Regions from separate parts of the Homo sapiens genome. Here regions 2, 3 and 4 are each linked to region 1. The links are contacts of gene promoters, found by promoter capture Hi-C in blood cells and fetal thymus (Javierre and others, 2016). All regions are on one chromosome and are shown on one strand. Each heading gives the region's core, a stretch centred on a gene start or on the middle of the fragment in contact. The rest is flanking DNA. Distances are from core to core; before and after follow the strand shown.

Evidence for each region. The method cuts DNA at HindIII sites, captures the fragments that hold promoters and counts their contacts. A CHiCAGO score of 5 or more calls a contact.
Region 2: a fragment that was not itself captured here is called in contact with the fragment with the promoter of AHSP in region 1 in 10 of 17 cell types (M1 macrophages, naive CD4 T cells, total CD8 T cells and 7 more); the score reaches 10.1 in M1 macrophages.
Region 3: a contact is called between a fragment that was not itself captured here and the fragment with the promoter of AHSP in region 1, in 16 of 17 cell types (total CD8 T cells, activated CD4 T cells, naive CD8 T cells and 13 more). The highest score is 16.2, in total CD8 T cells.
Region 4: a contact is called between a fragment that was not itself captured here and the fragment with the promoter of AHSP in region 1, in 1 of 17 cell types (endothelial precursors). The highest score is 5.1, in endothelial precursors.

Annotation. Positions count from the first base shown.
Region 1 is chr16:31,524,880-31,532,853 of GRCh38, forward strand. AHSP (alpha hemoglobin stabilizing protein) reads left to right here and starts at 3,021. Exons shown (of 3, transcript NM_016633.4): 1 at 3,021-3,083; 2 at 3,257-3,335; 3 at 3,579-3,924. The coding sequence starts at 3,261. The coding sequence ends at 3,812. The HindIII fragment of the contact is 1,316 bases long and covers 2,029-3,344 here.
Region 2 is chr16:31,834,659-31,842,632 of GRCh38, forward strand. No RefSeq gene overlaps it. Among named protein-coding and RNA genes, the nearest start is that of ZNF267, 35 kb to the right of the region's middle. The HindIII fragment of the contact is 2,976 bases long and covers 3,236-6,211 here.
Region 3 is chr16:31,803,298-31,811,271 of GRCh38, forward strand. It overlaps the pseudogene PPP2CBP1 and the pseudogene VN1R3. Among named protein-coding and RNA genes, the nearest start is that of ZNF267, 67 kb to the right of the region's middle. The HindIII fragment of the contact is 1,605 bases long and covers 4,239-5,843 here.
Region 4 is chr16:31,246,189-31,254,162 of GRCh38, forward strand. No RefSeq gene overlaps it. Among named protein-coding and RNA genes, the nearest start is that of ITGAM, 9.8 kb to the right of the region's middle. RefSeq lists an enhancer at 1-208. The HindIII fragment of the contact is 2,752 bases long and covers 2,098-4,849 here.

The DNA of each region.
Region 1 (7,974 bases), core at 1,771-4,270:
TTTTAAGAGACATCACCAGAAGTGAATTCCTCTGTAAATCAGCAGTGCTTTATTTTTCTGTTGCAGAATGAGTTTGTGATCCTGGTTTTCTACAATTCTTTAGCAAATGTGTTTTTGTAATCTCACGTTCAACCCTTCCTTTATTGATGTATCTAGCATGCTGAAAGGGAATCAGTTTCCCCTGCTATTCTCAAGACACTGGTTGAGGGAGGAGACTTCAATTCTTCACTACATCTCACTAATTTTACTCTGCAATTCATTATAGTCCAGGTAGTTAGATTAGTTCCAACTGTGCCAGGAAATTTTGAGGAATGAACAAAATTAGATTTTTTTTTCCTTTTTTTTTTAAAAGATGGGGTCTCACTATGTTGCCCAGGCTGGTCTTGAACCCTTGGGCTCAGACGATCCTGCCGTCTCTGCCTCTTACAGGCATGAGCCACTGTGCGTGGCTTCAATGTTAGATGTGTTCTTGGCAGCATGGTCTTCTAAGCCATCTGAGGCAGCACCATCTCTTTTGAGTTTCCTGGCATGTACCAGAGACCTTCCTGAAACTTTTCCTTAATGAGCTTTGGAAGGGCATTGGGATCTTGATCTTTCCCATCTGGTAATGAATTATTTTTAAAGAAATATTTAAGAAAAATTATTTAGAAGTGAAAGGATGTAGGAGACAGTCGGCCTGGTGTGATGTGAGAAAGACTGGACCTGGTGGTCATTGCTGGCTTTCAAGCTGGAAAGGGACCAGGAGTGAAAGAATGTGGGTTCTTCTATAGACTAGAAGAGGAAAGAAAAAGAACTCTTTTTCAGAGATTCCAAGGGGAACACAGCCTAGAGGACAACTTAATTTTAGCCTAGTGAGTCTCATTTTAGATTTCTGACCTCTAAGTCTGTAAGATAATAAATTTATTTATTTATTTATTTATTTAGAGACAAGGTCTCACTCTGTCACCCAGGCTGGAGTGCAGTGGCGTGATCTTCGCTCACTGCGGCCTCTTCCTCCTGGGTTCAAGCGATTCTCCTGCCTCAGCCTCCCAAGTAGCTGGGATTACAGGTGCATGCCACCATGTCTGGCTAATTTTTGTATTTTTAGTAGAGAGGGGGTTTCGCCATGTTAGCCAGGATGGTCTCGAACTCCTGACCTCAAGTGATCTGCCTGCCTTGACCTCCCAAAGTGCTGGGATCACAGATGGGAGCCACCGTGCCTGGCCGGTAACACATACTTTCCACCCTATATAAATGAAAACATGTTCACATGGAAACCTGTACACAAATGTTTATAGCAACTCTATTCACACTTGCCCCAAAGTACAAACAATCCAGATGTCCTTCCGTGGCTGAATGAACAAACTACAGTGCATCCATACAATGCAATGTGTCCACTGACACTTGTGACAACTTGGATGGAGCTCAAGAACATCATGCTGACCAAAAAAAGTCAGTCTCAAAGGTTACATACTGTATGATTCCATTTATATGACATCCTGAAAAAGGCTTAACTGTAGTGATGAACAGATAAGTGGTTGCCAGAAGTTATGGGTGAGGGTAGGGGTGGCTACAAAAGGGTAACGTGAAGGAGTGGTTTTTGGGTGACAGAAACATTCTGTATCTTAACTGCGTTTGTAGTTACACAAATCTGTTATAAAATTAATAAACTAGGCCAGATGCGGTAGCTCACACCTGTAATCCCAGCACTTTGGGAGGCCAAGGTGGGTCGATCACTTGAGGTCAGGAGTTCGAGACTAGCCTGGCCAACATGGTGAAACCCCATCTCTACTAAAATACAAAAATTAGCTAGGCGTGGTGATGCACGCCTGTAATCCCAGCTACTTGGGAGGCTGAGGCAGGAGAATCGCCTGAACCTGGGAGGTAAAGTTTGCAGTGAGCTGAGATCGCATCACTGCACTCCAGCCTGGGCCACAGAGGGAGACTCCCTCTCAAAAAAAAAAAATTTAATATACTGTACACCAAAAGGAAGTCAGTTTTGCTGTATATTGATTAAAAAATGCTACAACCAAAAAGGCAAATCAACAAAGCTTTATGAGTGTATAGGCACCTATGAATGTTGGGTTTTGAATGGAAAAAAAAAGTGACAGGAAATATACAATGTTTAATGCTGGTTACTTTGGAGGGGGCAAAAATGATTCAGTTTTTCAGTGTACGTTTTTGTATTGTTTTAATTATTTCAATTAGTATATAGTGATTTTGAAATTTGAGAAACATCTACTGAAAATGGAAAATATCTGGAAAAATATTTAAAAAGAGGAAAAAGAGTATTTCTGCTTTATTGGGTACCTGTTGACAGGGTAGTAAACAAGACAAATCCATCTCCATTCTTTTTTTTCTTTTGAGATGGAGTCTCGCCCTGTCACCCAGGCTGGAGTGCTGTGGTGTGATCTTGGCTCACTGCAACCTCTGCCTCCTGGGTTCAAGCGATTTTCGTGCCTCAGCCTCCCAAGTAGCTGAGACTACAGGTGCCCGCCACCACGCCCGGCTATTTATCTCCATTCTTATGGAGCACAGCGTGGTGGAGTTCAGTCCACACGCTTACAGGTGGCTTATCTGCAAAATGTGTCTAAAAAGAAATTTTATAGGATAAATATTTTGTACATGTTTGAAACAGTGCTTGGCACAAATGAATAAATGTAATGCAAGCTGCTATTAATACATCATCTCCGAATTGGGAGAATCATTGCGATCACATCGTTGTGATTACACAAAAGCCTCTGTCATGTAATAGGGCTCAGTAAACGTCAATTTCCATAGCATTTCGAGCCTGGATACTGAAATATGGGGCAAAAAGCAGGAACATGCCCCTGGTTTGGCTCTTGCCTTCTTGCATTTCCTGGGTTTCCTCATTTATCTTTTTTTTTTTTTTTTTTGGCCTTGTTATCTTTCTACCTTCAGGGAAGCCTCTCCCTTCTTCTCCTCCCTAGAATGACCTATCACCCTCCTTCAGGACCTAGATGCAGGGCGTTTCTATCTTAGGCTGACACTTGACTCCTTGCCTACATCTATAGCTTGGCACAGAGAGATTCACGCACCCTCAAGAGTGTGGGTGAGACATATACAGCCTGTTAGACCTGAAGGTGAGCCCAACCTGGGAAAATCGTGACCTCAGAGCAGGGCAGGATGTGAAAGGTTTTGGAAAGGAGATAGCCCTGCAGGGCAGGAGGGATTTTTAAGGGGAGGAAGTGGGTTGGGGGAAATACCCAGTGAGGAGGGAAACAGATATGTAAATTCTACCCTTTTCTCTACCCAGGCAGATGGCTCTTCTTAAGGCCAATAAGGATCTCATTTCCGCAGGATTGAAGGAGTTCAGCGTTCTGCTGAATCAGCAGGTGAGTCCAAGCTTTCCATTTCAAAGGACTGGCCTGGAGACTGGGGGGTGCCGGGGAAGTGGAGGAAGAGGATAATTGGAGCTGGTGAAGTAATGGTGGAGTTGATGGAAACAACGAGAGACACGGGATACAATGCAGAGGAAAGAGAATGTGAGAGTTGGTGCTGTGGCACTATTCTAGTATTCCCGAATCCCATTGCTGACCACATTCTCCCTTGCCAACTGCCTCTCCGCAACCCCCCAGGTCTTCAATGATCCTCTCGTCTCTGAAGAAGACATGGTGACTGTGGTGGAGGACTGGATGAACTTCTACATCAACTATTACAGGCAGCAGGTGACAGGGGAGCCCCAAGAGCGAGACAAGGCTCTGCAGGAGCTTCGGCAAGAGCTGAACACTCTGGCCAACCCTTTCCTGGCCAAGTACAGGGACTTCCTGAAGTCTCATGAGCTCCCGAGTCACCCACCGCCCTCCTCCTAGCTCAGGGACCCAGCCCCTCCTCTCTGAGAAACTCTGACCTTCATGTCCTTAGGCTGTGCTCCTGCCACTCTACCCTGACACCTCAATAAAGACCAGTGCTGGTTTTGTTGGACTTCCTGGCTTCTCTTTCATGGTCTGTCCTGACATGTGGAGGCACTCGGTCCCTTTCCTTCCGCCCTCCTTCTTAGATATGCTCTTGGAAGCTTAATTCCTTACAGCAGAGGTTAGCAGCCTTGAGTGACCACCGGGCAGCGATTCTAAACTAAAACAGGCTGAACGAGGGCCAGGAAGGCGGGACTAGAGAGAGTGCAGAGCTGCAGGGGAGGGGGTGGCAGAAACAAGAAAGGGGGATAGAAGTCCTCCAGACATTGTCCTGTGACCTGCTTGTCGAGGAGGAAACTGTTGGAAGTCTCCCAGTCTTGTTCATCCTGCGCCAGGTCCACCGCCTCGACTTTTCAATCCCCTGTCCTTAGCCCCAGCTCAAACTACATTCTAGGATCTTCGGACTCTGACTACCGCAAAATACCTCCCCGGAGCCCCAGGCATCGCAGGAATTTAGAGTTGGAAGGGATCCTGGGAACCCTTTAGCGCGCCCCTTATATTTCAGGAGGGGAAGCCACTTCCCTTTGGCTCCAACATCCCTGGGCGCAGATGCCAGGATTGGGAAGCAGAGGAATCCGCCTTCCCCCCACCCCAAGCTTCTCAGATCAATTCCCGGTCTAGCTCCCTTTCTCCCAGACCTCCAGACTCGAAGCCTCTATTTTAGGGCTCTGGGCGGAACCAGGGACGGGCCAGACTCAAGAGCTTTTTAAAAACGAAATGAAGGTGTTAGACCCGCGGCGCAGTCTCCAGGAAAAGCCTCCACGCGCAGAGGGGAGGGCCCTCCGGGGGAGGGTGCGCGGGGCGGGGGCGCGCGGGGGGAGGGGGTTCCCGGGGTGCTGAGCGGGGGCGGGGGTGCGCGGGGCGGGGGCGCGGCTAGGAGGCGCCGCACAGCAATCAGACGCGGCTCAGGGTGCGCGCGGGGAGCTGGAGGGCGCAGTTCTGGACCTTTTCGGTGTTCTCTCTAACGCGGGAAAAGTTTGGGGCCCAGAGGGATTGCTCCTCGTTCCAACCTCCAGCAAGCTTTCCTCTGGGACTTGTGAACCGACTGTTGTTTTGTAGGTCTCTGCAGCCTGGATCAGGGTGGAAAGGGAACCCGCTCAGTGTCCCCAGCGGTGCTTCCAACCCTGGGGTGTGGTCGGCCCTAGATCCAGCTTGGGAGAGTGGCGCCTCCCAGGGAAGCAGGCGGCGAGCTCCTCTGGGTTGGGGTCGGTGGTCCAGGCAGAGTCTGGGGCCTTCTCCACGGCACCTCTCAGGAAATCTCAGTCTGTGAGTGAGGACCAGAGCCCGCTCAGGCGGGACAGTAGTCGGCAGCCTCACCTTTGCAAGAGAGACCTGGCCTGGTGTGTGTGGGTGGAGGAAAGTGAGTGGGGGACGCTAGGAGAGCGCACAGCACAACGCTCCGGTGCCTTATGCAGAATGGCGAAATGTTTGCATGTAACCCACGCACATCTCTTCGTGGACTTCACATCATGGCTAGATTACTTACAATACCGACTACAACGTCAATGCTGTGCAAATAGTTGTTACACTGTATTATTTAGGGAGTAACGACAAGAAAAAAAGCCTGTACATGTTCAGTACAGAGGCAACCATCCATTTTTCTCCCCAAATATTTTCCATCCTTGGTTGGTTGAATCCACAGATGCGGAACCCACAGATACGGAGGGACCACTGTATTTGTCTTTCAGCTTAGCTGAAAAGAATGTTAGAAGCCGCTTTGGCTCAATTCATGAAGAGGAATTTTCCATACCTTTATAACTATCCAGCTATGGGAGCTGCTGAGCTAAGCACTTCTCAGGTGCTCAAAGGAAAATGACCAATTACAGGTGTAAGGTAGAAAAGATTCTCACTGGGAAGTTCAACATTGAAACTCCATTCCGACCATTCCATAAGCTTGTGCAATTGAGAAGCTGCAAAAAATATTTTTAAGACAGAAAAATCTGTTACCTGCACTTTCTGCTCTCATATTACTATCAACGAAGTGACTGGTTATAAATCTACAAGAAGTAAAATTGGGGATATTTTGATTTTTCAGAGACGGTGATATGAACCTGATGGTTCATAATAATAAAAATAAAATAACTAAAGCAGAGAGTGCCCCAAATCCATTACTGTTCCTGAAGGAAAATAAATTAGAATTAGTAAGAATAACCTTCTTTTGCTTAGCAGTATCTGAATTAATACTAGAAATAAGATTGTAAATAAATGGTAAAACATTATAGCCATAACCCTGCCCTTATCCTCACCCTCATATTGAACCTGACCTAGAGCTGACCCTGAACTTGAGCCTCACCTCTAGCTTCATCTTGCCCCTGATCATAATGGACACCTTGCCCTCACAATGACCCTGACTCTCACACTGACATTGCCTCTCATTCTCATTCTTATACTGATCCTGATGCTGAATTGGACCCTAAACTTTACCTGATCCTAATTTTCACCCTGTCTCTGACCCTCAACCTGAATCCTACCCTGACCCTTACCCTGAAATTGACCTTCACTGACCCTTCCCTTAGCATGATGTTGACTCTGACCCTCACTATGACCCTGACCCTTGATCCTCAACTTGACCTAGACAGTGATCATAATTATGACTTTTTTTTTTTTTAAAGAGGCAGGGTCTTGCTCTGTCACCCAGGCTGTAGTGCAGTGGTGCCAGCATGGCTCACAGCAACTTTGACCTCCAGAGCTCAAGCGATCCTCCTACCTCAGCTTCCTGAGTAGCTGGGACCACAGGTGCATGCCACTATGCCTGGCTATTTTTTTTTGTATTTTTTGTAGAGATGGGGTCTCACTATGTTGTCCATGCTGGTCTTGAACCCCTGGCCTCAAGCAAGCCTCCCACCTTAGCCTCCCAAAGCACTGGGACTACAGGTGTGAGCCACTGCACCTGGCCTTTAACCATGACTCTTGACCCTGAAGCATACACTCTCACCTTGACTCTGACCTTGCTCTCGTTCTGACACCACCCCCTCCTTCACACCTGAGCCTTACCCTGGTGCTCACTCTCACCTTGCATCTGACTGTGACACTCACCAGACCCTGATCCTGACTGTCACTTACACACTCTATCTCGTTCTCACCCTGACCCTGATTCTGTACTTGACCCGGACCCTCACTTTTGCCTTCAGTTTTAGCATCACCCTTAATCCCAACCGAACATTGAAGCTAACCCTACAGTGGCACTCAACTTGACCCTCCCCTGGCCTGGAAATCTTAATGTCACCATAACCCTCATCATGACCATAAATCTGACCCTTACCTGACCCTGACTCTGCTGCTTACTTTCCACTGACCCTGACTTGACCCTTATGGTCTCCTTGATCCTGACCTCACCCTGACTCTATAAGGACCCTTATCCATACCTTCACCATGTCCTTGAACCTGCTGTGAATCTGAAACTTATGCTGAGCCTGAACTACACACTCAGCCTGACCCTGGCACTAAGTCTTTCTCACTCTGTGATGAACTCTGACCCTGAAACTGACTCTGACCCTCGCCCTGACCCAGGCTTTGAATGTTTGCCTCACACTCCTTATCCTCACTCTGACACTGACCCCCACTCTGATCCTCACGATGACTCTCAGCTGGACTTTGACCCTGGAACATGACCCTTACCCTCATCAAGACTCAGCAATTTGCTCACACCTGTAGTCCTGGCACTTTGGGAGGCTGAGTTGAGAGGATCACTTGAGGTCAGGCATTTGAGACTAGCCTGGGCAACACAGCAAGACACCCCACCCCCATCTGTACAACAAAATATTCACATTGCATTACAAATGTCTGCTACATCATTGTAGTAAATTCTTTCTTTTTACTCCTATTAGTAGCTGCAACACGTTCTTATGATAAAACTCTGTGCCCAATTCTGACCACTGGAACAAGCTGGACACATCTGGCTTCTTTTTTTTTTTTTTTTTTTTTTTTTTGAGACGGAGTCTTGCTCTGTCATCTAGGCTGGAGTGCAGTGGTGCGACCTCGGCTCACTGCAGCCTCCGCCTCCCAGGTTCAAGCGATTCTCCTGCCTCAGCATCCCAAGTAGCTGGGATTACAGGCACCC
Region 2 (7,974 bases), core at 3,474-5,973, 310 kb after region 1:
TTGAAATATCTAGTGGTGAACAAAAGTGAAAACATACATATCAAAACTCAAAGTATGCCATGAAAGCAGTGATAAGAGGGAAGTTTATGGAGATAAATGCCTACATTTAAAAAGAGAAAGATATCAAAATGACAACGTAACATTACACCCCAAAGAACTAAAAAAAAAATTAGCAGAAGGAAATGACAAAGATCAAAACAGAAACAAACCAAATAGAGAATGGAAAAGCTATAGAAAAATGAACAAAACTGGGTTGTTTTTTAAAAAACTAAAATCAACAAACACTTACCAAGACTAATAAAGAAAAAATAGACAAGACATAAATAAATAAAATCAGAAATGAAAGTGGAGACATTATCTCCACTAGTAATGTATCAGATATAAAAAGAATCATAAGGGACTATTATAAACATCTGTATACCAACCAATTGGATAGCTTAGGGAAAATATAAAAATTCCAGTACACATTCAACATGGTACTGGAAGTCCTAGTTAGAGTAATCAAACAAGAGAAAAAAATTAAAGGCATTCAAATTGGAAAAGAAGTCAAATTATCCCCATTCTTTGATTATATAACCTTATATCTAGAAAAACCTGAAGACTCCACCAAAGAAACTCTTAGATTTGATAAATGAATTCAGTAGTTTCAGAATACAAAATCAATATACAAAAATCAGCAGCATTTCTATACACCAATAACGATCAAGCTGATAATCAAATCAAGAAGGCAATCCCATTTCCAATAGGTACAAAAAATAATAAAATACTAGGAACATACATAACTGAGGAGGTGAAAGATCTCTAGAAGGAAAACTACAAAACACTGATGACAGCAATTGTAGCTGACATAAACAAATGGAAAAAATCCCATGCTTGTGAATTAGAAAAATTTATAGAGGCAAAATGACCAAACTGCCCAAAGCGACCTACAGACTCAATGCAATTCCTATCAAACTACCAATGTCATTTTTCACAGAATTAGAAGAAACAATACTAAAACTCATATGAAACCAAAAAGAGTCAAAGTAATCAAAGCAATCCTAAGCAAAAAGAACAAAGCTGGGCACATCACATTGCCTGACTTCAAATTATACCATAAGGCTAAGGTAACCAAAACAGCATGGTACTGGTATGAAAATAAACACACAGATCAATGGAACAGAATAGAGAGCTCAGAAATAAAACCACATGTTATAACCAACTGATCTTTGACAAAGTTGGCAAGAAAATACACTGAGGAAAGGACACCCTATTCAATAAATGGTGCTGGGAAAATAGATTGCCATATACACAAAAATGAAACTGGACCCCTACTTATCTATCTATCTATCAATCACTATATGCAAAAATCAACTCAAGATGGATTAAAGACTTAATGTAAGAATTAAAACTATTCACTCAGTGCTCAATGGCGCCCAGGCTGGAGTGCAGTGGTGTGATCTCAGCTCGCTACAACCTCCACCTCCCAGCCGCCTGCCTTGGCCTCCCAAAGTGCCGAGATTGCAGCCTCTGCCCGGCCGCCACCCCGTCTGGGAAGTGAGGAGCGTCTCTGCCTGGCTGCCCATCGTCTGGGATGTGAGGAGCCCCTCTGCCTGGCTGCCCAGTCTGGAAAGTGAGGAGCGTCTCTGCCCGGCCGCCATCCCATCTGGGAAGTGAGGAGCGCCTCTTCCCGGCCGCCATCCCATCTAGGAAGTGAGGAGCGTCTCTGCCCGGCCGCCCATCGTCTGGGATGTGGGGAGCGCCTCTGCCCCGCCGCCCCATCTGGGATGTGAGGAGCGCCTCTGCCCGGCCGCCACCCTGTCTGGGAGGTGAGGAGCGTCTCTGCCCGGCCGCCCCGTCTGAGAAGTGAGGAGACCCTCCGCCCGGCAGCCGCCCCGTATGAGAAGTGAGGAGCCTCTCCGCCCGGCAGCCACCCCACCTGGGAAGTGAGGAGCATCTCCGCCCGGCAGCCACCCCGTCTGGGAGGGAGGTGGGGGGGTCAGCCCCCCACCCGGCCAGCCGCCCCGTCTGGGAGGGAGGTGGGGGGGTCAGCCCCCCGCCCGGCCAGCTGCCCCATCCGGGAGGTGAGGGGCGCCTCTGCCCGGCCGCCCCTACTGGGAAGTGAGGAGCCCCTCTGCCCGGCCAGCCACCCCGTCCGGCCAGCCACCCCGTCCGGGAGGTGAGGGGCGCCTCTGCCCGGCCGCCCCTGCTGGGAGGTGAGGAGCCCCTCTGCCCGGCCACCACCCCGTCTGGGAGGTGTGCCCAACAGCTCATTGAGAGCGGGCCAGGATGACAATGGCGGCTTTGTGGAATGGAGGGGAGGGGGGGGGGGAAGGTGGGGAAAAGATTGAGGAATCGGATGGTTGCCGTGTCTGTGTAGAGGGAGGTGGACATGGGAGACTTTTCATTTTGTTCTGTACTAAGAAAAATTCTTCTGCCTTGGGATCCTGTTGATCTGTGACCTTACCCCCGACCCTGTGCTCTATGAAACATGTGCTGTGTCCACTCAGAGTTAAAAGGATTAAGGGCGGTGCAAGATGTGCTTTGTTAAACAGATGCTTGAAGGCAGCATGCTCATTAAGAGTCATCACCACTCCCTAATCTCAAGTACCCAGGGACACAAACGCTGCGGAAGGCTGCAGGGTCCTCTGCCTAGGAAAACCAGAGACCTTTGTTCACTTGTTTATCTGCTGACCTTCCCTCCACTATTGTCCTTTGACCCTGCCAAATCCCCCTCTGTGAGAAACACCCAAGAATGATCAATAAAAAAAAAATAAAAAACAAAGAATTAAAACTATAAAAATACTAGAAGAAAAACTGGGGAAAATTCTTCCAGACATTGATCTAAGCAAAGAATTCATGACTAACAGCTCAAAAGCACAGGCAAGGCTGGGTGTGGTGGCTCACAACTGTAATCCCAGCACTTTGGGAGGCTGAGGTGGGTGGATCACCTGAGGTCAGGAGTTCAAGACTAGCCTGGCCAACATGGCGAAACCCAGTCTCTACTAAAAATACAAAAATTAGCTGGGCATGGTGGCACTTGCCTGTAATCCCAGCTACGTGGGAGGGAATTGCTTGAACCTGGGAGGTGGAGGTTCCAGTGAGCCAAGATCATGCAGCTGCACTCCAGCCTCGGCGACAGAGTGAAACTCTGTCAAACAAACAAACAAACAAACAAACAAACAAAAAAAACCACACACAAAAAACCATAAGTAACAAAAAGAAAAACACACAAACTGAACTTAATTAAACTAAAAGCTTCTGCACTGCAAAATTATCAACAGAGTGAAGAGACAACTTGAATAATGGGAGGAAATACTTATGTTTCAGGGGACTAATATCCAGAATTTACAAGGAACTCAAACAATCCAACAAAAAAATAATAAATAGTCCTGTTTAAAAGTGGAAAAAGGCTGGGCATGGTGGCTCATGCCTGTAATCCTAGCACTTTGGGAGCCTGGGGCGGGTGGATCACCTGAGGTCAGGAGTTTGAGACCAGCCTGAACAACATGGAGAAACCCCGTCTCTATGAAAAATGCAAAAATTAGCCAGGCGTAGTGGCGCATGCCTATAATCCCAGCTACTCAGGAGGCTGAGGCAGGAGAATCGCCTGAATCTGGGAGGTGGTTGCAGTGAGCCAAGATTATGCCAATGTACTCCAGGCTGGGCAACAAGAGCAAAACTCTATCTCGGGGAAAAAAAAAAAGTGGAAAAAGGACATGAATAGACATTTTTCAAAAGAAGATATTCAGATGGCCAGCAGACATATGAAAAAATGCTTAACATTACTGATCATCAGAGAAATGCGAGTTAAAACCACAATGAGAAATCATCTTACACTAGCCAGAATAGCTATCATTAAAAAGACAAGCCGGGCATGGTGACTCAACGCCTGTAATCTCAGCACTTTCGGGGGCTGACGCAGGCAGATCACGAGGTCCGGAGATCGAGACCATCCTGGCTAACACGGTGAAACCCCGTCTCTAATAAAAATAAAAAAAATTAGCCAGGCATGGTGGCACGCACCTGTAGTCCCAACTACTCAGGAGGCTGAGGCAGAAGAATTGCTTGAACCTGGAAGGTGGAGGTTGCAGTGAGCTGAGATTGTGCCACTGCACTCCAGCCTGGGTGACAGAGTGAGACTCCATCTCAAAAAAAACAAAAAAAAAAAGACAAAAAATAACAGCTGTTGGTGAGGATATAGAGAAAAAAGAACCCTTACACACCGTTAGTGGGAATGTAAATTAGTACAACCTCTGTGGAAAACAGTATGGAGATTTCTCAAAGAACTAAAAATAGAACTACAATTCAATCCAGCAATCCCACTACCTCGTATCTACGTAAAAGAAAATAAATTGTTATATCAAAAAGATACCTGCCCTTATATGTTTATTGCAGCACTATTCACAATAGCAAAGATATGGAATCAACCTAAGTGGCCATCAATAGATGACTGGATAAAGAAAATGTCACACATACACACACCATGGAATACTACTCGTGGAAGACAAAAAATTAATAAAGAAATGGGAAACTTGAATAACACTATACACCAAATAAACTTAACAGACATATACAAAACTTTTCACCCAACAGCAGAAGAATATATATTCTTCTTAAGCATACATGCCACATTCTGCAGCACAGTCTGGCAAGAGACACCTCCACCAGGTGGGACAGGGAAGTGAACACTGGACCCTCCCTTGGACCCCAGCACCAGCCCTTTACCCGACCCCAGTGAAACCCAGCACCAAGAAGGCCCCCATGACCCCAAAGTCCAGGCTGGCATCAGCAGACTGAGCTGCCAGGTCCACCAAGGCACTGGGTTGGATTCTGCATCCTCAAGCTCCAGGCCTTCCTGGAAGGCTTGGTCTCCAGGCCAGCCCCACCACCAGGCCAGCCCCAGTGGCCATGGGCCTCAGGCCTGCCCTAGCACAGGCCAACCTCTACAAACCCAGGCTCTCTGCCTCTCCTCACATTCTCAGGCTCCAGGCTAGCCTCACAGACTGTCTCTGGGCCTTCCCCAGTATCAGGCCAGCCCCAATTGACCCAGACTTTGAGCCACTCCCAGCACTAGGCTTCAATCTGCCCCAGCACCAGGCTGGCTCCACAGCCCTACATCATCAGGCCAGTACCCATGGACCAGCCTCCCGGACTACTCCAGGGTCCAGCCAAGCCCAGAGCCAGGTTCACCCCTTCAGCCCCAGGCTTCAGCCTGCCCCAGCCCTAAGTTGGCACCCTGTCATCACGCACCAACCTGGCATCCATGGACACAGGCTCCAGGACTGCCTCCATGGCCCCATGACCCAGGCCACCCCTCGAAGACCTAGCCTCCAGGCCAGCACTGCATACCCAGCTTCCAGACTATCCCCTATGGACCAGGCTCCAGGCCAGTATCCACAATCCCAGGCTCCAGACACACCCCTGCAAACCCAGGCTCTATGCCTGCCCCAGCACCAGGCTAGCCTTAGGCTTCAGTCTAGTCCCACGAACTTCAGACTCCAGTGAACCCAGGATCCATGCTCACCCAAGTGAACTCCAGTTCCAGGTCAGTCACTGCAACCTGAGGCTCCAGGACTACCCCTGCAGACACAGGCTCCGGCTATCCCTGGTAGACCCAGGCCCCAGGACCCTGCAGACCTAGGGCCACCCCAGCACTAGACCAGCTCCTTTGTATTCAGGCTCCAGTCCTATCCCAGTTAATCCAGTTTCCAGATGGCTTCACTGAAGAATTCTACCAACATTTTAAAAACTAAACCTTCTCAAACTCTTCAAATAAATTAAAGAAGAAGGAATACTTTCAAATTCGTTTTATGAGGCTAGCATTACCCTGATGCCAAAGCCAGACAAGGATACTACAAGAAAAGAAAATTACAGGCCAATATCTCTGATGAACATAAATGCAAAAATCCTCAGCAAAATACTAGCAAACAAAATTCAACAGCACATTAAAAAGATTATTCACCATGATCACATGGAATTTGTCACAGAGATGCAAGGATGATTCAACACACACAAATCTATAAATGTAATACACACTACAGTAACAGAATGAAGGACAAAAACCATATGATCATCTCCATAGATGCATAAAAAGCATTTAACAAGGTTTAACATCCTTTATGATAAAAGCTCTCAACAAATTAGGTATAGAAGCAATGTACCTCAACACAATAAAAGTCATATATGACAAACCCATAGCTAATATCATACTTAATGGTGAAAAGTTAAAAGCTTTCCTTCTAGAAGCAGGAATGAAGAAAGAATGCTTACTCTTGCCACTTCCATTCAACATAGCACTGGAAGTTCTGGCCGGAGCAGTTAAGCAAGAGAAAGAGATAAACGGCATCCAAGTTAGAAAGGTAGAAGTGAAATTGTTGCTATTTGCAGATGACATGCTATTATACATAGAAAACCCTAAAGTCTCTACCAAAAAAACTGTTAGCTTTTTGAGATATATAATACCTTATTGTTGGCATCATACATCCTGTATGTTTCTACTACAAATAAATGATAAATGTGTGAGGCATGCTAGTTCATTTGATTTTATGAATAACACTGCATTCTACCCCGTAAGTAAGTACATTCATTATGTGTCCATTTAAGAAAGAATTTCAAGAAATCTGTCAGAACTAACAGGTAAATTCAGTAAAGCAGCAGGATACAAAATAAACATACAACAATCAGTAAAGTTCCACATTAACAATGAACTATCTCAGGGAAAAAAATCAGGAAAACTATCCCATTTATGATACTTAGCATTAAAAAAAATACTTAGAAACAAATATTACCCAGGAAGTGAAAGACTCATACATTGAAAACCATAAAACACTGATGAAAGAAATTAAAGAAGACACAAATAAATGGAAAGATATCCCATATTCATCATGGGTTGGAAGAATTAATATTGTTAAAATGTCTATGCCACCCAAAATGATCCACAGGCTCTATGCAATCCTTATCAAAACTCCAGTGACATGTTTTTTCACAGAAACAGAAAAAGCAATTCTAAATTTATATGGAGCCACAAAAGACCCTAAATAGTCAAGGCTATCTTGGGCAAAAAGAATAAAGTTGGAGGCCTCACACTACCTATTTCAAAATATACTACAAATCCATACTAATCAAAACAGTATTTTATAGGTATAAAAACAGACACATAGACCAATGAAACATAATAGATAGCCCAGAAATAAACCCACCCATTTATGGTCAATTGATTTTCAACACAGTTGCCAATAACGCACAGTGGGGAAAGAACAGTTTCTACAACAAATGCTGTCAGGAAAACTAGATATTCACATGCAGAAGAATGAAATTTCACTTTTTTTCACACCATCTGCAAAAATAAATTCAAAGTCGATCAAAGAGTTAAATGTAAGAACTAAAACTGTAAAACCACTAGAAGAAAACAAAGTAGAAAAGCTCCATGACATTGGTCTAAGCAATGGTTTTTTGGATATGAGCCTAAAAGCCCAAGCAAGAAAAGCAAAAATCAACAAATGGGATTACACCAAACTGTTTCTACATAGCAATGGCAACAATCAAAAGAGTGAAGAGACAACCTACGGAATAGGAGAAAATATTTGACAACGATACATCTGATGAGGGGATAATATCTACAATATGTAAGGAACTCAACAGCAGGCAAACAAATGACCCAGTTAAAGAATGGGCAAAGTATGGCTGGGCACGGTGATCCCAGGTGGCTCAAACCTGTAATCCCAGCACTTTGGGAGTCTGAGGTGGGCAGATCAGGAGTTCGATACCAGCCTGGCCAACATGGTGACACCCCGGCTCTACTAAAAATACAAAAATTAGCCAGGCATTGTGGTGGGCACCTATAGTCCCAGCTACTCAGAAGGCTGAGCAGGAGAAATGCTTGAACCTGGGAGGCGGAGGTTGCAGTGAGTCAAGATTTTGCCACTGTGCTCCAGCCTGGGTGGCAAAGCGAGACTCCATCTAAAAAAAAAAAAAAAAAAAAAGAATGGACAA
Region 3 (7,974 bases), core at 3,791-6,290, 280 kb after region 1:
CATCACATTCACTCCTCAGATCATGGCTCAAAAGTCTACAGAGCAGAGACAAGAGATTGACAAAGAGGTGTTGATGAGGTAATGTATTCCATTTCCCTAGGTGAAAGGCAGGCACACCACACTGTGAACAAGGACAAGTGCTGGACTGGAATGAGTGCAGGAGCAAAATGTTCTCTAAGGTGGGCACGGTGGCTCACGCCTGTAATCCCAGCACTTTGGGAGGCCAAGGTGGGGGGTCACCTGAGGTCAGGAGTTCGAGACCAGCTTGGTCAACATGGTGAAACCCTGTCTTTACTAAAAATACAAAAAAAAATTAGCCAGGCATGGTGGTGGGTGCCTGTAATCCCAGCTACTTGCCAGCCTGAAGCAGAATTGCTTAAACCTGGGAGGCAGAGGTTGCAGTGAGCCAAGACCACATCATTGCACTCCAGCCTGGACAACAAGAAAGAAACTCTGTCTCAAAAAAAAAAAAAAAAAAAAGTTATCTAATCCAGAACCTGGAGGGGGCTGGGGAAGGCCTTCTACTGAGACACTACTGTAAATGGCTTCATTCTGTACACACACATACACACACACACACACACACACACACGTGGGTGAACAAGTATGTAAACCTTGATATACAGATGTAGATATTCATTCTATTAGTTCTGTTTCTCTGTCTTCTTGAGTATAGCCATCTTAGTGGGTGTGAATTAACACTTCATTGTGGTTTTGATTTGAATTTCCCTAATGAATAAGAATTCTGAGCATCTTTTCATGTGCTCATTGGCCATTTATGTTTTATTGCAATATCCTCATGCATTGTTATCACCAATAATTAAAACATTCTCTGGTAAAGTATTTTTCTAAGTTAATTTACTTATAAAAATTACAAAGGCATGAAGTGATTTACTCAATGAATGCTGTTGTCCCATTTAATTTTTCATGTCATATGTCATAATATGAGCTTATTCTCTCATTGGCATGTCCTGTATTTCTGAAATGAACTCTTTTCAATCATTTTGTATACCTGTATATTAATTATACATGCAAATCCATGACTTACGCTTGCTTAGTTTTAAGTTTTGACATAATGTATGTATTAGGTATCTTATTATTTGACAGAAATCACTTTTTCCTCTAAGTTTTCTAATTTATTAGCATAAAGTTGTTTGTCTTAGAACGTAGACTTTTTAAAAATCTCCATGAAGTTTTAAATACTGTTTATTTTTTAATATTAAGTATATCTTTTCACATTTTTATTAACATTGCAGTAAGCTCTATTTTATCATTAATTTTATTTTATTCTATTCCATGTAATACTTATTCTAAATTTTTTACTTACATTATACTTTATGATAACGCATTATTTAGGCTAAGCTTCTTTTATTTTTTTGAGACAGTGTCTTGCTCTGTTGGCCGGACTGGAGAGCAGTGGCACAATTTAGGCTTACTGCAACCTCCGCTTCCCAGGTTCAAGCGATTCTCCTCAGCCTCCCAAGTGGCTGGGATTACAGGTGCCCACCACCACGCCTGGCTAATTTTTGTATTTTTAGTAGAGATGGGGTTGTACCCTGTTAGCCAGGCTGGTCTCAAACCCCTGACCTCAGGTAATCTGCCCACCTCAGCCTCCAAAATTGGTGGGATTACAGGCATGAGCCACCTCACCTGGCCAAGGTTAAGCTTCTTTTTATAATTTAATTTCAGAGTTTGACATCAAAAACACATATTGTCAGGCATCTTCTATTGTAGCATTTGAATTTGCAGCCATCTAATTTTCTCTAACTACTTTTGAACAAATACAGTGTACAACTTGAATATGAAGAATTTTTATTGTCTTTTCATCTGAAAAGTTCTAAATATTAATTAGGAATATTGCTCAGTTTTTAGGTTTAGTATTTAAAATTGCTTCATAAGCTATTTAAAAATATTTAATAGTGGCAAGGTTAATCTCTATGATTAAAATATTTTACATTCATTAAAGCTCCCTTTGTGATTGCATTATTTCAATCGTTCTATATTGCTGAGTAATGCAACACATAGCCCAATTTCGATATATGTCCATTAGGCCAAACTTATGCATTGTATTTTTCAAATATTTGAATTTTCAAGACATTTTACCTGCTTTACCTAACAATAATAAGAAAATGTCTGTGGAAATTTTTCACTTCAGCTACATGATTACCCCATTTGTTTTATGATTCTTTCAAATGGGCTTCCTTGAATATTTCAAGGCAGCAATTACCACCAACTCCCTAGAAAAAGGGAAGCATAAGCCTCCCCAGGGTCCCTGGCGTCGGCTCCTCCACCGACGGTGACTGGTTCCACCAGATTCACTTCCCAGAGGTCACCCTGATGCTTATTTCTTCTGAACAGGCTAATTGGGATTATTGCTAATACAGCATAGTCTACCCTCACAGGGTCCCGAAAATTAGGCAGTTTTCTTGATGAGTCTCATATTCATCGGCTGTGAGTCAAATTCTAATGAAAACCTCTTTCTACAGTCCTGTGCTCATTTCACTCCACCCAGACCACTGCATCCATTTTTACCTTAAAATATTTGAAATGGACCACTCTCCTCCCACAAAAAATTGTGCGAGAAGGCAAAGGAAATTTTAACAAAAGGATCAGATGTGCAAGAGGTTCGTTGCCCTGATACTGTCTGTGGAGATGTGCATGGTCAATTACATGATCTTATGGAACTCTTTAGAATTGGTGGAAAATCACCAGATACAAACTACTTATTAATGGGTGACTATGTAGACAGAGGATATTATTCAGTGGAGACTGTGACTCTTCTTGTAGCATTCATTATCCAGAATGCATTACAATATTGAGAGGAAATCACAAAAGCCAACAAATTACCCAAGTATATGGCTTTTATGATGAATGTCCGCGAAAGTATGGGAATGCCAATGTTTGAAAATACTTTACAGATCTCTTTGATTATCTTCCACTTATAACTTTAGTAGATGGACAGATATTCTGCCTCCATGGTGGCCTGTCTCCATCCACATACACACTGGATCATATAAGAGCCCTGGGTCATTTACAAGAAGTTCCACATGAGGGCCCAATGTATGATCTATTACGGTCAGATCCAGATGATCGTGGTGGATGGGGTATTTCACCCTGTGTGCTGGCTACACATTTGGACAAGACATTTCTGAAACCTTTAACCATGCCAATGGTCTCACACTGGTTTCTCGTGCCCACCAGCTTGTAATGGAGGGATACCATTGGTGTCATGATCAGAATGTGGTTACTATTTTCAGTGCACCCAATTACTGTTATTGTTGTGGTAACCAGGCTGCGATCATGGAACTAGATGACGCTTTAAGATATTCCTTCCTTCAGTTTGACCCAGCACTTTGTTGTGGCGAGCCTCATGTTACACAGCACACCCCAGACTACTTCCTATAAATTTCTCCTGGGAAACCTGCCTTTGTATGTGGAAGTATACCTGGCTTATTAAAATATATGTATTTAAAAACAAAAAGCAACAGTAATCTATGTGTTTCTGTAACAAATTGGGATCTGTCTTGGCGTTAAACCACATCATGGACCAAATGTGCCATACTAATGATGAGCATTTAGTACAATTTGAGACTGAAATTTAGTACACTATGTTCTAGATAGGTCACTCTAACAGTTTGCCTGCTGTATTTATAGTAACCATTTTCCTCCAGACCGTTCAAGCAGAAAAGGTAACTAATTGCTTCATCTCCTTTTGTGCTTATTTGGAAATTTTAGTTACAGTGTTTAACTGGCATGGATTAATAGAGTTGGAGTTTTATTTTTAAGAAAAATTCACAAGCTAACTTCCACTAATCCATTACCCTTTATTTTATTGAAATGTATAATTAACTTAACTGAAGAAAGGGTTCTTCTTGGGAGTACGTTGTCGTAACATTTACAGATTTCCCTTCATTTAAACTAAATTACTGTTGTATGTTGATCTGCTGCATATTTCTGTCATGACAGTGCTTGCATCCTATTTGGTGTAGTCAGCAAATAAACTTTTCATTTTAAACGAACAAATATAAGAAGCATGAATACAGGATCTACACATCAGAAAAATTATAGAGGGACAGAATTTTTAAAAAATAACCAAAACTAGTCTCAATAAAGTATAATTATCAAGGACAAAAAGAAAATTTTACAACTTGAAAATAGGAAAAAATGAAGATTAATTCAAAACAAAAAAGGACATGAACTATGACTTTCTTCTCACTTTCTTCATTGATCATTACTTAAGCTTCTTTATTTCATCAAACTTTTCTTACACTGCTGTGCCCAGTTAATTCCATGACATTTTTTATTAATTGGTTTAAAGTTGCATTGTTCCAACTTATTAGAGGCCCATTTTTAATTAATAATTTGCCTCTTAACTTCTCCATTGCAACATTAACAAAATGAAAATTATGAAATTACAAACAAAATGAAAATTATGAAAGCACTTTGCAAAAACATTTCATCTGTAACTGTTGTTTATGATACGTGAAAAATCCTTGAAGGGCAAAGACGGATTCTGAGTCTTATATACACTGCAATTGACTGCCCATTGCGGTGCTTAACCTGCAGGAAGAAATCAACAAACGGCCATTCATTATACAAAAAGAAGACAATCCACATAAATCGGAGAACTATCTGACCAGCTTAGGAAACTGTGGATTCCTTCCACAGCAGGCAGAGCCCAGCCTGGGTATCCTGGGATGGCGGCTCATGAGCACAAAGGGGCTGACCATGGGAAAACAGGCAGTGATCAGTGCAGAGGTGTTCAACAGCCACCAACTGGGATTAGGAAAAAGAGACATATGTAAAGATGGAGGAGAGCGAGTAAAGTAACACAAGGTGCTCACCAGGACCAGGATGCTTTGGGTGACTCTGGACTCAGGGGAGGATCTGGCGGAGAGGTTGGTCCCATGAATGTGCTGGACCTGCTGCTTGTGCCTGTGCAGGATAAAAACCATGGAGCCACTGGCCAAGGTCATGAGCCCCAAACACAAAACATCAAGGGATGATAACAAGACAATATGTAATGAATGTGGAATTCTGCTCCTACTTCCTCCAGAACAATATCCATAATCATTTGTCTTTGTGCTATTTATGCTGTTCCACTTGCCAGTCACATGTAGAAGAACAGTAATATTTACCAGCGTGTTCAGAATCCAGCACAGGACCAGGATAAAAGACCTGATGTATTTGTGAGCATGTAGCTTCAGCTCTGCCCACCTGAATTCACTGGGGCTGATGGTGATGACCTGGAAGACACTCAGTGCACACAGCCCTGCCCACTCTGTGAACATAAAACACAAATTTGCATCCAATATCACTGAGGGAATCTTTCAACCCAAAAGCAGCCATTGTTTGTGGGATTCCTTTAGAGAGTATAACCAAGGAGTTGGCTATGGTCAGGTGCTTGAGAATCAGATCTGTGGACTGTAACATACCTCTGGTGAAACAAAGGAAACTATAGTGGTAGAGAAGAAAGAAATTCCCCAGGAATCCGACCATGATCTGAGATAATAAGATCATGCCTATTGCAAAATCCTTGGAGGCCATTTGTCATTTTTCAGTGACTGATAATTACATTCAAAGTGAGAGAACCCTGTGTGGAAACATAAAGTTTCACTTTTGCAAATAAAATCCACTATTGTACACTTACCATTGTTTCCAACTTAGACATTTTCTTATTAGACCCTGTTTTTTAAATAAGAGTTTTGCTCTAAAAAGAAGAACATATGCATCCCCATGAGAGGAGTACTATATTAGTGTTTTGCATGTAACTTTTACAATAATTCTGTGGTATAAGTGCTTTACTATTTCCATTTTACAGGTAAGAAGATCTTACACAAGGAAGCTTAATGAATTTTCTAAAGTAACTGCTTTGTAAGAGGCAGAATCAAAATTGGACAATGTGTTTAATCACTGTGTGTCTCACCCTTGGACATAGTATTTTTTTAATGCTTCACACATTTCATGTTGTATATATTGTCGCTTTCTTTAAACCTGGATGTAGTTTTTTCTTCATTTTTGATTGTGGCAATTTCTCATTTAAATCTAAGTGCTTATTTCATGAGCAAATATCACCTATAATGATTCAGAAATCCAAGTAGAATATAGATGCACTGATTTAGTATAATCCTAAAAGAATAATCATACAAGACCAAATGATATTTATTGAATGCTTAAATGATTTCATGCTGAAATTAAAAAAGAAGATTCTTTCTCATCTTAACCAAGAAGGATACAGAAATGACTGTTGCTAAGCAAGGGGTCAAGGGACATGAGTAGGAGATAAAACAGTGCAAAGGAGAAACAGGTTGTCATGAATTACAGATAAATTTAGTATTTGTTTATGAATACAAAAATATCAAATGAAATTATTTCAGGCTGGGCACCATGGCTCTCATCTATAATCCCAGCACTTTGGGAGGCCAAGGTGGGCAAATCATTTGAGGTCAGGAGTTCGAGACCAGCCTGGCCAACATGATGAAACTCCATCTCTACTAAAAATACAAAAATTAGCTGGGCATGGTGGTGCATGCACCTGTGGTCCCAGCTACTTGGGAGGCTGAGGCAGGAGAATTGCTTGAACCCCGGAGGCGGAGGCTGCAGTGAGCTGAGATCCCACCACTGTACTCCAGCATGGGTGACAGAGAAAGACTCCATCTCAAAAAAAAAATTATTTCAATGTCAGAATTGTTAGGTATATTAAAATATAAGTCTGTTATGTAAAAGGAAAACTCGAGGTAGGGAAAATTATTCACTGAATTAAGTGTTACTAAGATGAGTATTGAGCCTAAGAATGGCTTCAGAACATTTTTGAAGACAGAGTAAATATTACCAAATAATTTACTTCAGAAAACGACTGAAGTCCTTGATTTTTGTTCTAATATGAAAACCTAAGGTCATCAAGATACCTTTCCTTGACCGCTCCTCCCCTGACTTCATGAAAGAATATGGTCTTTTCGTCATTCTCAGAGACCAGATGTTTCCTGTCACCACACATCACGGTCTCCATTAGGTACTTTATATGTCCAGAGTAGGTTAAAGCCCTATGTTTAATACTTTTGAGAAGAATAAGATAATTTAATCAGCTACATCTTATACATTATCACAGGCATGAAGGAATTGTAGAAATGCTTCCATTCATCCTAGAAATCTTTCTGATTCTTGTGGAATTGATAGAACAGCTAGCGGATTAATTTCCAAATTATTCTAGGAAACTTTTTTAAAAAATGCATTCTTCCCACTTAACAGGTAAGGAGATCTTAGACAAGAAGGATCAACAAAAACAGATTTTGGGGGCCAGGCACGGTGGCTCAGGCCTGTAATCCCCACAATTTGGGAGGCCGAGGCTGGTGGATCACCTGAGATCAGGGCTTCAAGACCATCTTGACCAACATGGCGAAACCCCATCTCTACTAGAAATACAAAAAATTAGCCGGGCGTGGTGGCAGGCGCCTGTAATCCCAGCTATTCAGCAGTCTGAGGCAGGAGAATTGCTTGAACTTGGGAGGCAGAGGTTGCAGTGAGCTGAGACTGCAACATTGCATTCCAGCCTGGGTGACAGTGCAAGAATCCGTCTTAAATTAAAAAAAAAAAACTTAAAAACAGATTTTTGGCTTCTTCCATCAAAAACCGACAATGACAAGCATGAGGATTTTGTTAAGTGAGCTGCAGCTGGGGACTGGCTCATGCTCTTGGAACTTTGCTCCCTCTCCACAACTTAGCCCATGACCCAGCCATTATTTCCTTTCCCCACATGGCCTTGACACTGGTCAGTTTCTGGCCCAGTGGAGTCCTCTTTCCACACCAGAGCATTTACCCCACCTCCTGACAACTTCCTAACCTTACAGGTGCTCTCTCACAGATCAAAATGTAACACACCCACCAGGCGCCTCCCTGCTGCTGGGCTGTGGAAACCAGTGACTGTCACGGCCAGGGAGTGTGTGGAGGGAGGCGGCCAGGTCTGAGATATGGGCT
Region 4 (7,974 bases), core at 2,224-4,723, 280 kb before region 1:
TACGAGATGACGGGATTAAGAGATTAAAGTAAAGACAGGCATAGGAAATCACAAGGGTATTGATTGGGGAAGTGATATGTGTCCATGAAATCTTCACAATTTATGTTCAGAGATTGCAGTAAAGACAGGCATAAGAAATTATGAAAGTATTAATTTGGGAAACTAATAAATGTCCATGAAATCTTCACAATTTATGTTCTTCTGCCATGGCTTCAGCTGGTCCCTCCATTAGGGGTTCCGGGCTTCCCACAACAGAAGAGGTCTTGCTATATTATCGGTCTTGAACTCCTAGCTTCAAGTGATCCTCCCACCTCAGCCCCGCAAAGTCCCAGTGTGAGCCACTGCACCCAGCCTGGTTACATAACTTCCATGTGCCTCAGTTTCTTCATCTGCAAAATGGGGCTAGAATACCTTCTTCATAGGATTTCTATGAAGGGTCAGTGAGTGAACACATGCTAATCACTTAGAACCATGTCTGGCACAGAGTAAATTCTCAATCAGTGTCAGTTTTTATTATGTATTATTATTATTATTGTAAAATACAGTATGTCATTATAGTATGTATTGACTATTTGTTCTACATTTTCAATTTTCAAGAATTAGGCACTTTTAGTTATATTTTCAGTATTTTCTGTTTTTACCTTAATCTATCATTTCTGATTTTACCTTAATCAGGGATGTGGTATGTATCATTTCTGCCTTTCTGTGGCATGAAATTGGAATGGTATTTGTGAAATGAGTTTTAGTGCTTAAAAAGCTTTATTTATTTATTTTTTTGAGACAGAGTGTTGCTCTGTCGCCCAGGCTGGAGTGCAGTGGTGCGATCTCGGCTCACAGAAACCTCTGCCTCCCAGGCTCAAGCGATTCTAATGCCTCAGCCTCCCAAGTAGCTGGGATTACTTAAAGGCATGTGCTACTATGCCTGGCTAATTTTTGTATTTTTAGTGGAGATGGGGTTTTGCCATGTTGGCCAGGCTGGTCTCAAACTCCTGGCCTCAAGTGATCCATCCTCCCTGGCCTCCCAAAGTGCTGGGATTACAGGCGTGAGCCACCACACACCCACACACAGCCTATTCATCTTTTTTTTTAAAGACAGGATCTTGCTCTGTTGCCCAGGCTGGAGTGCAGGAGTGCAGTACATCATAGCTCACTGCAGCCTTGAACTCCTAAGCTCAAGCCATCCTCCTGCCCTTGACCCTCCAAGTAGCTGGCACTACAGGCATGACATACATCTATTAATGCTACCTTATTAGCTGTGTCGTTCACATCAACCAGTTAATTTGCATGTCTATAACTACATCTGAATTTGTGCGCGCTCTCTCTCTTTTTTTTTTTTTTTTTTTACGGAGTCTTGCTTTGTCCCCCAGGCTGGAGTGCAGTGACATGATCTCAGCTCACTGCAACCTCCGCCTTCTGGGTTCAAGTGATTCTCCTGCCTCAGCCTCCCGAGTAGCTGGGACTACAGGTGCTCGCCACCATGCCCGGCTAATTTTTGTATTTTTTAGTAGAGATGGGGTTTCACCATGTTGGCCAGGATGGTCTTGATCTCTTGATCTTGTGATCCGCCCGCCTTGGCGTCCCAAAGTGCTGGGATTACAGGCGTGAGCCACCGCACCCCGCCAGCATTCTTTGTCTTGTCCACAGCTGAAGTTTCCATTATTTATTTATTCAACCAAACTTCATCAAACTCCTTTTTAATGTAGCACATACCATGCTCAGTCTTAGGCGTATGCATTTGGATAATTCAAAATTGTTGCCTTCAAAAAGCTATAGTGAGAGAAATAACCTCATAAACAATAAGATCACAGTGTGAGGACTGCTAATAGAGCTGTGTGTAACAGAGCTTGGGGTTAAGCAGGAAAATTAGGGCAGGCTTCTCAGAAGAGGTGACAACTTGAGTTGGCCCTTGGAGAGCAAGTAGGAGTTTCTAAGGAAAACAAAAAGAAGCAGAAGGATGGTATTCCAGACACACCCAATAGTCAATTGTACTATTAGTTTGATGCAAACGTAATTGCGGTTTTGGCCATGACTTTAATTACTTTAGTTACATTTGCACCCACCTAATAATTATCTGAAACTGCATGACAAATGACCCTAAGCTTAGAGGCTTAAAACAACAGTAATCATTTCTTATCTCCCTTGATTTCTTTTCTTAAATTTAAAAAAATTTTTGGCCGGGTGCAGTGGCTCACATCTGTAATCCCAGCACCACAGTAGCAAAAATAGCTGCAGTGGTTCCAGGTTTTACATCACACTAGGAGGAGAAAAAACATCTTTGTCCTGAGATCCACTTTGATTAGACACATGCCCACACTTGAACCAACGACTTATGTCAGAGCGATAGAATAGTTGGATTGTCTTAGTGTAGTTCACATGCTCCACCCTCAGACCTGGGGCAAAGTCAGTTCTTCCCAAACCACGTAGTCCTCCAAGTGGAAATTGAGAGTCGCTGGGAAGGGGGAAACTGGATGCTGGGGAGATAACCACAAGTGTCCACACAAACTCAATTGTGATGTGGTTCATCTAAGCAACACTCAGTGAGCCCCAGCCAGATAAGGTGCTGGGTCCTGGGATAAAGCCATGAGCAGGACATAGTCACTGCTCTCAAGGCAGCCATTGTTTATCACCCCCCAAGAACGTAAGCTCCTTAAAGGTAGGGAGGTTTCCTCTCTCGTTCACATCCATTTCCCTGAGCCTGGAGCAGCACCTGGCACATAGTTAATACCTGTTGAATGAAGAGTCTAGTGGAAAGATGGGCATAATCTCCAAGTCATCACACCATATACAGTTTAATGCTAGCTCTAGGGACTTTGAGGGGCCAGGGTGTGTGATCCACCCTTTTACTTCTCCTCCTTTTTCTCTTCCTTCTGTTTGTGGCTCCCCCAGGGTGAGAGATTGAGAGGAAAGAATTGAAGGGATGGCAGGGGTTCCACATGACTGGTACCCATATGTGGTTGGAAATGCCCTGACTCTCTCTAGACTCCAAGCTGGGTCCATCTCTTGCTTGTGGTCCCCAGTAGCTGAAGTACAGCTGAGGTGTTCCTGGGGTTGCTATTTAGCTTAACCATGGCTCTCTCCTCTGCTGAGGAGCCCCTTGGAGTGAGAGATGCCTGCCTCCCCTCAGGGCTTTGCCTCCACCCTTTCTCCAACCTCTGTATTCCTTCATGTGGAACCAGGAAGCCCCCCTCTCCCTCAATTTCCCACTTTATTTAAGGCACATAAAACTTTTCTGGAGGAAAGCTCTTGTTGAATCTGCAGCCTCTCCCCAAACCCCAAGGCCTGTAAAGCTCTGAATAGAGAGGCCCTGAGCTGAATGTGACAGTAATGATACTTATATCAGGTCAAGGATGCCTAAGGACCATAGTTACTTTGTCAAATTGTACAAGATGTTTCATCCAGAGCGTGCTTAGAGTAATGATAATGATATGTGGCAGAGAGAGCTAGTTGCCCCCATGTGCTTTCCTCTTCTTCCTTTAGTAATGCAACCCCATTAATTAGCACACAGATACTTAGGATAACATCACATTTTCCAGTCACCACTGCAGTTGTGTGTGGCCATGTGACTAAGTCCTGGCCAATGAGATGTGAAGGAAATGATGTGTGCAACATTTGGTCTCACCTTTAAAGGAAAGGGGCCTTCCCACCATTTTTTTTCTTTGTTATGAGACAGAGTCTCACTCTGTCACCCAGGCTGGAGTGCAGTGGCATGCTCTTGGCTCACTGCAACCTCCACCTTCCAGGTTCAAGCGATTCTCCTGCCTCAGCCTCCCAAGGAGCTGGGACTATAAGCGCCCGCCACAATGGCTGGCTAATTTTTGTATTTTTAGTAAAGGCGGGGTTTCACCATGTTTGCCAGGCTGGTCTCGAACTCCTGACCTCATGTGAACCCACTTCGGCCTCCCAAAATGCTGGGATTACAGGTGTGAGCCACTGTGCCTGGCTTTTTTTTTTTTTGATACAGATTCTTGCTCTGTTACCCAGGCTGGAGTAAAGTGGTGCAATCTTGACTCACTGCAGCCTTGACCTCCCAGGCTCAGGTGATCCTCCCACCTAAGCCTCCCAAGTAGCAGGGACCACAGGCACATGCTACCATGCCCAGCTAATTTTTTTTTGTAATTTTTATAGAGACAAGGTTGTGTCATGTTGCTGCGCTGGTCTTGAACTCGTGGGCTCAAGTGATCTGCCTGCCTCGGCCTTCTAAAGTGCTGGGATTACAGACATAAGCCAACGTGCCTGGCCTCAATTTTTTTTTTTTTTTTTTTGAGACAAAGTCTCACTCTATTGCCCAGGATGGAGTACAGTGGCTTGAGCTCGGCTCACTGCAACCTCTGCCTCCTGAGTTCAAGCGATTCTCCTGCCTCAGTCTCCCAAGTTGCTGGGATTGCAGGCATGTGCCACCACACCCAGCTAATTTTTGTATTTTTAGTAGAGATGGGGTTTCACCATGTTGGTTAGGCTGGTCTTGAACTCCTGACCTCAGGTGATCCGCCTGCCTCGGCCTCCCAAAGTGCTGGGATTACAGGCGTGAGCCACCACTCCCTGCCAGGCACCACTTCTTTTTATCCTTCCTGTCAGCCCGAGGGTGGACTTGGCGCTGGGCCGTCTTTGACCAGGCGGATGAAGACAAAACCCTCAGGATGGCAGAGCAACCTGCTGGAGGGAGCCTGGATCTCCAACACCATGGAGCCTCCGTAACCCCCAAATGCTGATGCTGGGGCCATCACAGGACTGTCTGGGCTAAGCCTCTGTGATTTTGGGTCTTATTACAACAGTTGAACCTTAGTCTCCACCAATACAAATAATCATCTTTGCCGGTGGGGGCGCATCTTACATGCCAGGCACTGTGCTAAGCTTTTCACATGCATTATTTAATTTAACCCTTACAAAAACTCTGTTAAGTCACACATCAGTTAGGGCCTTTTGGGGAAAAACAACAGAACAAGTAGAACATGAGATTTACTGAGTACCAAGTAGCCTATTCCAGGAATTAGTAGTTTTGTTTCCTGCCCTGCTCAGGTTAGGCCCTGAGCAACTCCTCCTTTCAAGGTTGGGAGGCAAGAACTTAGAGATGGTGAAATGGCTGTCGCTGCCCTGCAAGTCACCTGTGGCCAACCATGCTCTTTGTGTGACCTTGGTCGAAACACCTGGGACTCACAAAGCCTGTGGTAGAACAATTTCCTTGGCCTGCCAGACATTTGGCCTGCTGCATGGACAACTGAGGTGGCAAGGGAAGCATCCAGAATGCTTCCCACTGAGCGACAGGCAGCTTTCAGCCACCTACCTCTGTGTGTCATCGAGGGTGCGCTGGCCAGGTCATCCATCAACCCAACACAGTTGGTAGAATGATTACAGCGAATGTTGACTACATGCACTTTGACATCTATTATTATCTCATTTAACTATCACAATCACCCCAAGATGTTAGTACAATTATTGCCCCCATTTTCCAGATGAGGACAGTGAGGTCCAGAGAGTAAGTTGTTCAAGGGCATACTTATAGACCTAGGATATTTTTATTCTTTTTTTTTTTTTTTCTGAGATGAGATCTTGCTCTGTTGCCCAGGCTGGAGGGCAGTGGTGTGATCTTGGCTCATTGCAATCTCCGCCTCCTGGGTTCAAGTGATTTTCTTGCCTCAGCCTCCTGAGTAGCTGGGATTACAGGCATGTGCCACCATTCCCGGCTAATTTTTGTATTTTTGGTAGAGACAGGGTTTCGCTATATTGTCCAGGCTGGTTTCAAACTTCTGACTTCAGGTGATCCACCTGCCTCAGCCTCCCAAAGTGCTGGGATTACAGGTGTGAGCCACCACACCCGGCGTAGACCTAGGATTTTAGTGCCCTTAGTCTGATTCCAGACCCAAAGGCTTAACCAGATGGCTGAGGATGACACTCAGGTGGAACTTTTTTTTCTTACTTTTTTTTTTTTTTAAGACAGGGTCTCGCTGTGTTGCCCAAGCTGGAGTGCGGTGGTGCAATCAGCTCACTGCAGCCTCAATCTCCTGGGCTCAAGTGATTCTCCCACCTCAGCCTCCTGGGTAGCTGGGGTTGTCTCACGTGTCCATGTGAAGAGACCACCAAACGGGCTTCGTGTGAGCAACAAGGCTGTTTATTTCACCTGGGTGCAGGCGGGCTGAGTCCGAAAAGAGAGTCAGCAAAGGGTGGTGGATTATCATTAGTTCCTACAGGTTTTGGGATAGGGGGTGAAAAGCCATGTTTTGCGGGCAGGGGTGGATCTCACAAAGTACATTCTCAAGGGTGGGGAGAATTACAAAGAACCTTCTTAAGGGTCGGGGAGATTACAAAGTACCTTCTTAAGGGTGGGGGAGATTACAAAGTACATTGATCAGTTAGGGTGGGACAGAAACAAATCACAATGGTGGAATGTCATCAGTTAAGGCTATTTTCACTTCTTTTGTGGATCTTCAGTTGCTTCAAGCCATCTGGATGTATACATGCAGGTCACAGGGGATATGATGGCTTAGCTTGGGCTCAGAGGCCTGACAGGATCACAGGAACTTTTCTTGACAATCCAGTGCAATGGAAAAACAGTATTTTATTCTTGTTCTTCCCACAACTTTCTCAGGAGGGCGGATCCTGTAGCAAGTTTCTTCGAGTGTGGTGAGCGAAGCAAATTGGAGGAGCTCAGACGGAGATAATTTGTCTGTGTAGACAAGGAAGGAAATTTGGAGAGGTGGGACTGGGAGATTTTGTTGGGAAGAGAGAAGCCGTGACCCTGGGTGCTGTGCAGGAAAAGGGACGATGAAGACCTGATACCTTCATTCCCCTGAGAGCAAAACTGGAAAATGTTGAGGAATGTGGCAAAGAAGGTTTGCGAAGTTGAGTATAGAGAGTCATGTGATGCAAAACCCACTTGTTTGAAGGAGGTGGGCCAGTGAGCCTGCCGATCCCTGGGGGAAGATTGGTTCCATCAGAGGGAACAGCCAGTGCCATGGCCTTCAGGTGGTGGTGTGCCTGGCAGGTTTGAGGAATGGCAAGGAGGCCAGGGTGGCTGCTGTCCCAGAAAATGAGGTAAGCTCAGAGAGGTAAGGGCTGGGGTTGGGATGACAGGTCATGCAGGTCCTTGTAGGTTGTAGAAAGGACTGGCTTTTACTATCAGTAACGTGGGAGCCTTTGCAAGGTTTTGAGCAGAGGAGTGGCATGATATGTCTTGTGTTTTGAAACAATCCCTCTGACTGCTGTACTGAAAATTGACTTCGGCTGGGCACGGTGGCTCACGCATGTAATGCCAGCACTTTGGGAGGCTGAGGTGGGAGGATGGCTTGAGGCTAGGAGTTTGAGACCAGCCTAGGCAACTTAGTGAGACCCCGTCTCTACAAAAAGATTGAAAAATTACCTGGACATGGGGGCGCATGCCTGTAGTACCAGCTATTTAGGAGGCTGAGGTGGGAGGATCATTTGAACCCAGGAGTTGGAAAAAAGAAAAAAGGCAGTCAAAGGACTGAGCTCTGAGATCCTTCTGAAGAGGTTGGGAGAAGAGGAGAATCAGCAAGAGAAACTGAGAAGGAGGGTCATGGGCGGTAGGCGGGAAGCAGGAGAGTGTGGGGTCAGAGGACAGATGTAGAAATCAGTTCCAGGAAGCGAGGGCCGAGTGTCAGAAGCTGCTGCTGAGTCACTCAAGATGAAGACAGAACTCATCACTGGAGTCACTCAGGCAGCCTTGGTGACCTTGATAAAAATAGTTTAGGTGGAGTAGGTGCCGGGTTGGAGCACAGGCTTGGTTGGAATGGGGTTAAGGGAGGATGTGAGCAGTAGAACAGGGTGCAGCCAACACAGACAACTACTTTGGAGAAGTTTTGCAAAAGGGAAGTAAAAAATGGGCAGTGGTTGATGAGGGGAGTGGAATCAAAGAAAGTCTTGTTTGCTTTTTCAGTAGGAGAAATGTATTGTTTCTGATGGGAACACCAGATTTCTACATACGTATTTTGTATTCTTTCCGAGGGTCTTATATACTTA